Regions from separate parts of the Homo sapiens genome. Here all the other regions are linked to region 2. Evidence: promoter capture Hi-C in human tissues and cell types (Jung and others, 2019). All regions are on one chromosome and are shown on one strand. The core of a region is centred on a gene start or on the middle of the fragment in contact, and the rest is flanking DNA. Distances in the headings are between cores, read along the strand shown. Region 1 overlaps FOXN1 (forkhead box N1). Region 2 holds the start of SLC46A1 (solute carrier family 46 member 1). Region 3 overlaps SLC13A2 (solute carrier family 13 member 2).

Evidence for each region. The method cuts DNA at HindIII sites, captures the fragments that hold promoters and counts their contacts. A contact is called where the count stands out against the background at its distance.
Region 1: a contact is called between a fragment that was not itself captured here and the fragment with the promoter of SLC46A1 in region 2, in 2 of the 25 tissues and cell types used here (mesenchymal stem cells and small bowel).
Region 3: a contact is called between a fragment that was not itself captured here and the fragment with the promoter of SLC46A1 in region 2, in 2 of the 25 tissues and cell types used here (lymphoblastoid cells and pancreas).

Annotation. Positions count from the first base shown.
Region 1 is chr17:28,514,089-28,518,162 of GRCh38, forward strand. All of the region lies in intron 1 of FOXN1 (forkhead box N1), which reads left to right. Among named protein-coding and RNA genes, the nearest start is that of FOXN1, 9.8 kb to the left of the region's middle. The HindIII fragment of the contact is 8,963 bases long and covers 1-4,074 here.
Region 2 is chr17:28,404,934-28,408,549 of GRCh38, forward strand. SLC46A1 (solute carrier family 46 member 1) reads right to left here and starts at 1,279. Exons shown (of 5, transcript NM_080669.6): 1 at 954-1,279; 2 at 1-535. The coding sequence starts at 1,181. RefSeq lists enhancers at 1-293, 3,434-3,616 and silencers at 761-920, 1,121-1,460. The HindIII fragment of the contact is 14,811 bases long and covers 1-3,616 here.
Region 3 is chr17:28,490,310-28,494,375 of GRCh38, forward strand. It overlaps SLC13A2 (solute carrier family 13 member 2), which reads left to right. Exons shown (of 12, transcript NM_003984.4): 3 at 145-281; 4 at 392-597; 5 at 1,128-1,308; 6 at 1,421-1,543; 7 at 3,262-3,480; 8 at 3,708-3,796. Among named protein-coding and RNA genes, the nearest start is that of FOXN1, 14 kb to the right of the region's middle. RefSeq lists an enhancer at 2,840-2,909. The HindIII fragment of the contact is 5,155 bases long and covers 1-4,066 here.

The DNA of each region.
Region 1 (4,074 bases), core at 251-2,750, 110 kb after region 2:
TCCAGGTCGGCCCAAGGCTCAAGTGCTTTTCCAGGATGGGCGTACTAGGCAATGCTCTGGGACCAGCCTGCTTCCAGAGGCACATGGGAATGCTGAAGAGTCTTTAGGAGAAGCCTGATTTGGGGACTGGAATGACTCAGCTGCAGGTGTCGGTGGCTCACATGGAGGAAAGCGTCACCTGGGGGACATGGTGGCTTTTCATCCTTTGTTCTCCCCACTCCCCTCCCTGCCCATTCTGTCCCTACCTGCTCTGTACTTGAGTCAGATCTCAAGGCAGGGGCACGCAACCCATTTTCCGAAACTGATGCTGGGTTAAGAGCCAGGGAGGCCAGAATTTTGCCCTCAGAACTTCCAACATTGATGGGGAGAAAGGAGCTAGAAACCCCCTCTTTCTTGGCATTCCCAGACCCCGAGTTTCCTTGGGTGCCCAAGCCTCAGGCAGAGCCCCCAGGTCCTTCCCTGCCACCCCCATAATTGCCGAGCTGCTCCAGGGGACCCCTCCCAGCAGCCTGTCGGGTGGAGCCCTGGGTGGGGCTACAGGCCAGCACCCGGCCGGCCGAGCCCCACCCCTCGTAAAACATGCTGCCGCAGCCAGCAACAGAAACCATTAAGGTGGAACTGAGCCGTCCCCACCTCACTCATAAAGAGTGGGTAGGAGGCCGCCAGGTGGGAGGCAGCAGGGAGCGTGAAGAGAGCCTGGGGAGGACCCTTGGTGCCCCAGGCCTGTCTGTCCCTGTGATTCAGTTGCCCACAGGGGAGGCAGGGACAGACCCTCCCAAGGAAACCTCCAACGTCGCCCCCACCCACCTTTCAGGCTTGAGCAGGGAGGCTGAGGCGTTACCAAGGTGGGGCCGTGTAGCGTAATGGTTCAGCATGCTGGCTTTGAAGCCCGGGTTGGAATCCTGGGGAGCATAATATACTAGCTGAGTGAACTTGGGCAAGTCAGGTTAACTTCTCTGAGTCTCAGTTTCCTCATCTATAAAATGGGATGATAATACAGCTCCTCCTTCCTGGGGTGTAAAAACTCAGCCAAGTCTTCCTGATCTCCTTGAGGATGTCCTCAGGGGCGCCCCACATAAAGGCAGAGGAGGGGTGAGGTCCCTGCTGACAGCTCTGTGGGCCAGATACACCTTTACAGGGTACATATCTCCACAGGGTACACACCTCTATGAGGTACACACCTCCACAGGGTACACACTTCCACAGGGTACATACCTCCAAAGAGTACAGAGTACATACCTCCACAGGGTACACACCTCCACAGAGTACACCCCTTCATAGGTGTACACATCTCCACAGGGTACACCCTCCACAGGTGTGCACATTTCCAAAGGTGTATACACTTCCACAGGTGAACATACCTCCACAGGTGAACACACTTCCACAGGGTACATACTTCCATAGGTGAACATACTTCCACAAGTGTACACCCCTTCACAGAGGTACACCCCTCCATGTGGTACATGCTTCTACAGGGTACACACTTCCACAGATGAACATACCTCCACAGGCTACACATCTCCACAGGTGTACACCCCTCCAAAAGTATAGACTTCCACAGGTGTACACACCTCCACAGGGTATACAGTTCCATTGGTGAATATACCTCCACAGGTGTACACTCCTCAACAGGTATACACCCCTCCACAAGTATACACACTTTCACAGGAGTACACCCCTCCACAGTGTACATACCTCCAAAGGTGAACACCATTCCCCAGGTGTATACACCTCCACAGATATACATACCTTCACAGGCGTACACACCTCCACAGGGTACACACTTCCACAGGTGAACATATCTCTACAGTGTCCATACCTTCACAGGGTACACATTTCCACAGGTATACCCTCCTCAACAGGTGTACACCCCTCCACAAGTATACACATTTCCACAGGGGTACACACCTCCAGAGGATCCATACTTCCACAGGGTATACAACTCCACAGGATCCATAACTCCACAGGATACACACCTCCACAGGATCCATACCTCCACAGGGTACACATCTCCACAGGGTACACACCTCCACAGGATCCTTACATCCACAGGGTACACATCTCCACAGGATCCATACCTCCACAGGGTACACACCTCCACAGGGTACACACCTCCACAGGATCCATAGCTCCAAAGGGTACACATCTCCAGAGGATACACATCTCCACAGAATCCATACCTCCACAGGGTACACACCTCTACAGGGTACACACTGCCACAGGATCCACACCTCCACAAGGTACACACCTCCACAGGTTACACACCTCCACAGGATCCATACCTCCATAGGGTACACACCTCCACAGGATCCATACCATCACGGGGTACATGCCTCCACAGAGTACATACCTCCACAGGATCCACACCTCCACAGGGTACACACTTCCACAGAGTACACACCTCCACAGGATCCATACCGCCACAGAGTACACACCTCCACAGGGTACACACCTCCGCAGGATACACACCTCCACAGGGTACACACCTCCACAGGATCCATACCTCCATAGGGTACACACCTCCGCAGGATCCATACCTCCACAGGGTACACACCTCCACTGGGTACACACCTCCACAGGATCCATACCATCACGGGGTACACGCCTCCACAGAATACATACCTCCACAGGATCCACACCTCCACAGGGTACACACTTCCACAGGGTACACACCTCCACAGGATCCATACCTCAAAAGGGTACACATCTCCACAGGGTACACACCTCCACAGGATACACACCTCCACAGGGTACACACCTCCACAGGGTACACAACTCCACTGGGTACACACCTCCACAGGATCCATACCTCCACAAGGACACACCTCCACAGGGTACACACCTCCACAGGATCCATACCTCCATAGGGTACACACCTCCGCAGGATCCATACCTCCACAGGGTACACACCTCCACAGGATCCATACCATCACAGGGTACACGCCTCCACAGAGTACATACCTCCACAGGATCCACACCTCCACAGGGTACACACTTCCACAGGGTACACACCTCCACAGGATCCATACCTCAAAAGGGTACACATCTCCACAGGGTACACACCTCCACAGGATCCACACCTCCACAGGGTACACACCTCCACAGGATACACACCTCCACAGGGTACACACCTCCACTGGGTACACACCTCCACAGGATCCATACCTCCACAGGGACACACCTCCACAGGGTACACACCTCCACAGGGTACATGCCTCCACAAGATACACACCTCCACAGGGACACACCTCCACAGGGTACAGGGTACACACCTCCACAGGGCAGACACCTCCACAGGATCCATAGTTCCATAGGGTACACACCTCCACAGGATCCATACCTCCACAGGGTACACACCTCCACAGGGTACACACCTCCATAGGGTACACACCTCCATAGGGTACTCAACTCCACAGGGTACACACCTCCACAGGGTACATACCTCCACAGGGTACATGCCTGCACAGGGTACACACCTCCACAGGATCCATACCTCCACAGGGTACACACCTCCACAGGATCCATACCTCCACAGGGTACACACCTCCACAGGGTACAGACCTCCACAGGGTACACACCTCCACAGGATCCATACCTCCACAGGGTACACACCTCCACAGGGTACAGACCTCCATAGGGTACACACCTCCACAGGGTACATGCCTGCACTGGGTACACACCTCCACAGGATCCATACCTCCACAGGGTACACACCTCCACAGGATACACACCTCCACAGGGTACACACCTCCACAGGATACACACCTCCACAGGATCCATACCTCCACAGGGTACACACCTCCACAGGATCCATACCTCCACAGGGTACACACCTCCACAGGGTACAGACCTCCATAGGGTACACACCTCCACAGGGTACATGCCTCCACTGGGTACACACCTCCACAGGATCCATACCTCCACAGGGTACACACCTCCACAGGATACACACCTCCACAGGGTACACACCTCCACAGGATACACACCTCCACAGGATCCATACCTCCACAGGGTACACACCTCCACAGGGTACACACCTCCATAGGGTACACACCTCCACATGGTACACACCTT
Region 2 (3,616 bases), core at 29-2,528:
AGAGCTGGACAATGGATCGGTGGTGACGGAACGTGAAGAGCCGGGTGGACTTTGGCTCCTTTAAGGTCTCACCAAAGCAGAAAGCTGCATAGAGAGTCATGGCTATCAGCAAGGCCAAGGCCAGCCAGAAGGGGTTGGCATAACCCTGGGCCCGGAGCCAGTGGCCCCCGAGGAGGCTTGCCAGCATCCCAGCCACCCCGATGCTGGCTTCCAGCAGGGCCATCCGGAAGGTGCGGCTGCGACTGGAGCTGACATCTGCCACGGACGCAAAGCTAGCAGCCAGAAGGCCACCGAAGTCGCCGAGGAGGGCACAAAGGATGCGACCCAGCACGAAGTAGCCGACGTGGAGCTGCAGCTGCACCACAAAAACGGACACTAGGGCCTGGAGCAGCAGGCCCAGCGAGGCCAGCACTAGCAGCGGGCGGCGGCCCACACTGTCGCTCCAAGCTCCCAGCAGGGTGGACGAGAAGAGCCCCACCAGGAAGCCGCCCACGTTCATGTAGAGGGTCCAGTGGGAGGTAAGGGTCTCCACTTCCTGTAGGGGCACAATGACCAGGGTGCGGTTCCTCACTCTGGGTTCCACAATCCCCAAATCCTCGCCATCCCGGGAGCTACAGGGATGAGGACTTCCTTTGGAGCCCTAAACCTCAGAGAATCTTAGCACAGCTTTCAAAATCTGCCAGTGGAGAGGGGGAAGGACATGGACCAAGGCCCCATTCCCTTTCCTTTCCCCCCCCTTTTGTTAACCTGCAAGGCCAGACTTTAGCTCAGCTTTTCGCATCCCACCCGCTGAGGTTCTCGGTCAGGCCCCTTTGCTCTGGTCCCGCCCACCATCCAAAATGCACCCTCCCTCCAGTTACCCGCCACTACCATTACGCAGGCCCCGCCCCTCCGCTGCCCCCACGCTCCAGACCAGGGCCCTCCACCTGCCAGGCTCCTCGCCGCCCCGCTACCTGCATGGTGGGGTCCGCGCTGCGGTTGCTGCAGCCCCCCCTTTGGCGGGTGCCATTGTAGCCGAGGTCGGCGCTGAAGCGGTGCCACAGATACTGCGTGGTGAGCGGGCCCTGCAGGACCAAGGCAAAGTTGGCCAGGAAGACCAGCGGCTCTACCGGGCCCCGGCACAGCACGGCAGCCGCAGGGCGGGCGCGGGGCTTTTCCGGGGGGCTCGCGCTCCCCTCCATGTGCGTGCGCGGCGGAGCTGTCGCCAGGCGGGCGGCGGGGCGCGCGAGCGACTCGCTGCCTGGGACCAGCGACGCGTGGCGTGGGGCTTGCGCTGTCTGCGCCTGCGCCCGGCGTCCCTCCTTAAATGTCCGGCGGGGAGGGGCCTGTGACCTGAGGCCACCGGACTCTCGCCGCGGGTGCACCTGGCTGGGCGTGGGCCAGCGAGGGGCCCGGCACCCCCAGCCCGCGGGATGACCTCACCTGTAAAGTGTGCGTAGACACCGCCCTGCAGCCCTCCCTCCCGGCCCAGACACACCACAGATAACAAGAATATCAACAATTAACATGTATTGACCACTTACTATGTGCTGGGCACGGTATTAAACCCTTTTTGTGCGTTGGTCTCCCGATAACTCTACAGGCTAGCCAATATTAACCATCGCTATCTACCGCTGAGGAAACGAGGTCATCGGGTACTCAAGGCAGAGCTGGAAGAGCACATGACTCCTGATGCTGCTGATGTTCTGCGCTGTAACAGAGAGGCAGCTGGAGAGGATCGGAGTGGGCTGAGCCCAGCTGCCTGGGTTGGAGCACCTAGGCTCTGCCACTACCTTCGGCATGCCACTTACCACCCTGAGCCTCTGTTTTTTCATCTGTAAAATGGAGTTGCTAACAAAACATGTCTCAAAAAGTTGTGGAAAAGCAGTGTCTGGTATATTCAAAGTGCTATTATTGCTATTAACAGGCTGTCACGTCTGGGAGTGGTGGCTCACACCTGTAATCCCAGCACTTTTGGAGGCTGAGGCGCATGGATCGCTTGAACCCAGGAGTTCGAGACCAATCTGGGCAACATGGTAAAACCCTGTCTCTACAAAAAATACACAAAAATTAGCCAGGCGTAGTAGCAGATACCTGTAGTCCCAGGTACTCGGGTGGCTGAGGTGGGAGGATCAATTGAGCCCAGGAGGCAGAGGTTGCAGTGGGCTGAGATCGCACCACTGCACTCCAGCCTGGGTGACAGAGCAAGACCCTGTCTCAAAAAATATAAAATAAAAATAAAATAAAAAACAAGCTGTCACTTGCTCCACTCCTGCCCTAGGATCTTTTCCTGGGAAACTAGTCTTGTTTCTGGGGTCAGGCAGGGCCTGGCTCTGCAGTTCCCTTAGAGAAGATGGGGGAGGGCCTGGGAGGTCCTTGGGTGTGAACCTATGCTCCTGGGTGGCTCCCATTATAGGAATTAGGCCAGAAGGCAGTCACCTGCTCTGCTGCTGAGGAGGTCAGACCCTGTCTGGGCCTCTGTTTTATTGCCTGTAAAAAGGAACAGCATTACCTTCCTTACTCCCCTATCTTTCATTCATTCAGCTCATTTACTGAGTGCCCCTTACGTGCCAGGCACTGTGCTGGGGGACTCCGGGACCACAACAGGAAAGGAAATAGACAAAGCCCTCACCAGGCCCGTTAGTTTCTAGAATGGTGGGAGAGGAAAAATAGTCAAAGAATCCTACTAATTGATACAAAATTCCAACCGTGGAAAATAGTTTTGAACTCCAAGGGTGCTAATTCAGGGGCTGGAGGTAGGGGGAGCAGAATCAGGAAAGGCCACCTTCCCTGAGAACAGAGCAGCTGAGTGGGTTTCTGGAGGCAGGTCCTGACAGGCCTGATTCTTGGGAGGATGGATGGCTCCAATTCTGGCCACTGTGACTGTGCCTGGGCCTGTTGGAGCTTGTTAGCTACCCCACCTCCCCTGAGCCAGGAGTCCGAGACTCAGGATGGGTAGGTGCTGGCTAGATACTAGTGAACTGAATAACCTCCCCCTGCAAGCTGCCCCCACCTGTGGTCCCCTAGAGAGAGGAAATTCCACATTAAACATTCAAGCCTCTGGATTGGCTCCACTCTCCTCCCTCCCCTTCCAACTCCTCCCTACCACTTACACAAAAGCTTGGCCCAGTTAGGTCAGCTGCAGTGAGGGAGGGGTACTTGGCTAAATCCTTGGAATTATTTCTTAGATAAAGAACTAAGGCTAGGAGAGGCCAAGGTCCCTCATCAGGAATGGGACAGGGTGTGGCTCATCCCAGAGCCAGAGCCTGCAGTACCCACTAGGGTAGAGGTCTTTTCTAACTCCTTGAAAACAGCTGCAATCAGGTCACTGGCCTGCTCAAAACCATCCTGGGCTTTCCATTTCGCTCAGTGAGAGCCAAGTCCTTATGAGAGCCCTAAGGCCACCTACCTCTTCTCTGTCCCTCTCCCCTGCTTTGTCCCCCTCAATCCTTGTGCTCAAGCCATGCTGGCCTCCTGCTTTAGGGCCTTTACACTTGCGGTAACTACTACCTAGAATGCTCTTCTGGATATCTGCCTGGCCGGCTCCCTCACTTCCTTCAAGTCTCCACTAAAATGTCACCTGACCCTCCTATATAAGCAACTTCCCTCCTTCCTTGCTTCCTGGCACTCCCTAATC
Region 3 (4,066 bases), core at 574-3,073, 86 kb after region 2:
ATTCAGAGACCATTTCCATCCAGTTTCGAGAGCCCAGGGGAATGCCAGTCTGTGGGAATGTCAGTGACTGCATCCCATAACCTCGGGGGCACCGTGGGAGACTCCAGGGTCTTCCCGCCGCTCAGCCATGTCTCCACCTGCCAGGTTGCCGTCGAGTATCTTAAGGACTCCAACCTCCTGTTCTTCGGGGGGCTGCTGGTGGCCATCGCGGTGGAACACTGGAACCTGCATAAACGCATCGCCCTCCGTGTCCTCCTCATCGTTGGGGTGCGGCCTGCCCCGTGAGTTCCTCCTGCAAACCAGCACGGGAGAACCTGACGAGGAGATATTCTGGGCACCCAGTCCCTGAAGGGAAGCTGGAACAGCAGTGTGTCTGTCTGCCCATCCCTAGGCTAATCCTGGGCTTCATGCTGGTCACGGCCTTCCTGTCCATGTGGATCAGCAACACGGCCACCTCAGCCATGATGGTGCCCATCGCACATGCCGTCCTGGACCAGCTGCACAGCTCGCAAGCCAGCAGCAACGTCGAGGAGGGCAGCAACAACCCCACCTTCGAGCTCCAGGAACCAAGTCCCCAGAAGGAGGTGACCAAGCTTGGTGAGAAAAATGAGGCTAGACTCTGCCCCAACCCCTTGGTTCTTGGAGAGAGTCTGAGGGTCTGTCCGTTTCGAGGGCTGGTCATCTTGGAGCCTTTGGGGAGAGAAGAAAGAGATGCAAGAAGGACAGTGACCAATTTGTTTTTCCTTTTTTAAAAAATGTCAAGTACCCTGTTTTGGGAATCCCCTCATCCCTGGGCAAACCAAGATGCTTGGTCACCATAGCAAGAAGAGAGCTGGAGTCTAGGTGAACAGTCCAAGGTCTAGGCTCCATTCTTCCTGAGTGGTTTGGGTAATCCTCGTTTCCCTCTCTCAAGAGAGAGGTCAGATCATAGAGTGTCCAAGGGTGCTCCCAGCCTGAGACTCTGGGGAATGCTGGGCCCCTCAGGCCTGGAGACATCCTCTGTCCTCCTTCCAGCCCCGGTCTGGGCTGTTCACAGACAAGGTACCCTGGAGGGCCTTGCAGCCCTGGCCCCGTTCCCCAGAGCTGGCCCTGTACCTGCCCCCACCTGGGCTCTCCCTTGTTCCCAGATAATGGGCAGGCCCTCCCTGTCACGTCTGCCTCTTCGGAGGGGAGGGCACATCTCAGCCAGAAGCATCTCCACCTCACCCAGTGCATGAGCCTGTGCGTGTGCTACTCCGCCAGCATCGGGGGCATCGCCACGCTGACTGGCACCGCACCCAACCTGGTGCTGCAAGGCCAGATCAACTCGTGAGTGACAAGGGGTGGGCCACCTTGGGGGATCTGCACATTCACTGGGAGGTGAATGGGGCTGGGCAGTTCTCGGGGCAATGTCACACGGCAGCCCATGTTCCTCCTTCAGGCTCTTCCCCCAAAACGGCAACGTGGTGAACTTCGCCTCCTGGTTCAGCTTCGCCTTCCCCACCATGGTCATCTTGCTGCTGCTGGCCTGGTTGTGGCTGCAGATCCTCTTCCTGGGCTTCAAGTAAGTGGCAAAGTTGGTGAGAGAAGCCCAGGTCCCTGCCCTTAGCCCTGGGAGCTTCCAGTTGGGTGCAGATGTGGAAAATGATATTATCACCATCCCAATGAGAAGGCTTCTCCCTCCCAAAGCCCCTCTGTGCACTTGGACCCCCATTTGAGGAAATTACTGGGTAGAGAGTATTATCCCATTTCACAGATGCGCAAATTGAGGCTTCAGGAGTGGTTCGCAACTAGATTTGTCAGTGCTGGGGCTGCAAACCAGGTCACTTGATGCCCCTTCCCATAATGGTCCACCGTCCTTTGATAGGTGCTTAAGGGGCACACACTGAGCATGGTTAGTTACAGAAGCACCTGCTGTGTTCCTACTGTATACTGGGTTGTGTGTAAGGCACTGAGAATACTAGAAGGCACTGGGCACAGTCCCTGTCCTTGTAGCCCATCAGGTGGATGATGATATGGTGGGGTCACGACAGAGGGAAGCCCAGATGCTGCAAGAGCACAGAGAACACAGTGTCTAGTTCAGCCCAGGTGAGTGAAGATTCCAGAACACCATGGAGGAGATCATGCCTGGGCTGAATCTTGCAGGACTAGAAGTCAGCCAGGTAGAGAATGGGTGAAGAAATTCCAGGCAGCAGGAGCAGATTGCACAAAGCACAGAGGCAAGACAAGACGTGTTCGAGGGAACTCTAGTTCTGCAGGACTAAAACACAAACAGCAAAAAGGAGCATCAGGTCATGAAGCTGGAGAAGTAGGCAGGGGAAGGTTCTGGAAGCTCTTGTGTGCCACCTAATGAAGCCAAGAGTAATAAATAGATTTCATTCCTACTTCCACCAGGTTCCTGGTAGTCACTGTTTGGAGCTCTGAGTTGGAAAATCATAGGAGACCCTGCTAAGGCTCAGTTAGTATCAAGTCTGTGATTGATTAGTGATGTCTGCCATGAATACGGGATAAGAGTGGTGGTATGAGTGTTACTGTGGTATTAATTATAATTTGCCCTTCCTGCCCAGGCAGTGGAGAGCCCTTGAAAGTTTTTAAGCATTGCTGCTGCACTTTGGAAAAATCACTTGGGCAAATGTAAGGAAGCTGGATTAAGGTTGGGAGCTGGTACAAGGCAAGGTGGTAGTAGAAGAGGTCAGCACAGTGCCAGGCACCACAGGGGAGTCAAAGATGTGTGAAGTGTGGTCTTTGCCCTTGAGGAACTCACAGTCCAGCAGGGAGGTTGAGATTTACCCAAGTGGAAAGTTAAATGTCAACACAAGTTAAGTCAGCAGCAGAAGGAAGTGGGCTGCAGCCTACTGTGCCTCTGAGGACAATGCAGGTGGGGCTCAGGCTGGCAGGGGATAAGCAGAGAAGGCAGAGGAGGGAAGGGAGGACTTCCCGAAGGCTGTTGGAGGAGAAGAGCTGTGAGCCAGGGCAGGAAGAAGTCCCAGGGTCTGAGCTGCTAGGTCCTCCTCACCCTGGGCAAGGGAGGGTTCAGCACCATAGAACCCCTGGAGGAAAAGGGGCTCAATGGGGCAGGGCCAAGCATGGAGAATAAGCAAGAACTATGGCCTCTAAAAGTCTTCTGCTCCTCCTCCAGAACCTCAGGCGGAGCTGGGGCCTGAGTGTAGTGACCCTGAGATGCCCTCTGTGGGCCTCAGCCTTTAGATGGTAGGCACTCAGAGCCCCTTGCTCCCTGCTGGAGCAGGCCCCCCACGAGCTGCCCCGTCCCTCTGCCTGCAGCTTCCGGAAGAACTTTGGCATTGGGGAAAAGATGCAGGAGCAACAGCAGGCAGCCTACTGCGTCATCCAGACCGAGCACAGGCTGCTGGGCCCCATGACCTTTGCAGAAAAGGCCATCAGCATCCTATTCGTCATCCTGGTGCTGCTCTGGTTCACCCGGGAGCCGGGCTTTTTTCTTGGCTGGGGCAATTTGGCTTTTCCCAATGCCAAGGGGGAGAGGTGAGAGTTGCAGGGGTTGGGAGGAGGACACATCTGGGGCTCACATGCTCGGGAAGGAGGGAAGGGTATAGGGCCCCCATTGCAGAACAGGAGGTAACACTTGGTGGGGGATGAAGGTTCCCCAGGCTTGTCTATGGGAGAGGCTCATCTCCACCACCCTCCACCCTGTGGCCCTGAGCAACCCCAAGCGGCTAACCCAGCCCTCCCCGCGCCCCCTCCACCAACAGCATGGTGTCCGATGGGACAGTGGCCATCTTCATCGGCATAATTATGTTCATCATACCCTCCAAGTTCCCAGGGCTGACCCAGGACCCAGGTAAGCACCTGGACTGGGGCAGGGAAGGGTCTCCGGGCAGCCCCTGCCTTCAAGTATGTAATGTACCTTCCACCACACTTGGCAGGAGTAGGCAAAGCCCAGAAAGGCTGGAGCGACTTGCCAAGGGCACAGGGACTCGGAGACAAAGTTGAGATGTTGCAGAACTGAGGGTCCCCTCCTGCACGCGTTAAGCTCCAAAAGGGACCCACACAGGGAGCCCGCAAATGGAGAGGGGAAAGGCCTGTTTGTTCTTTGGTGACCCATCCTTCT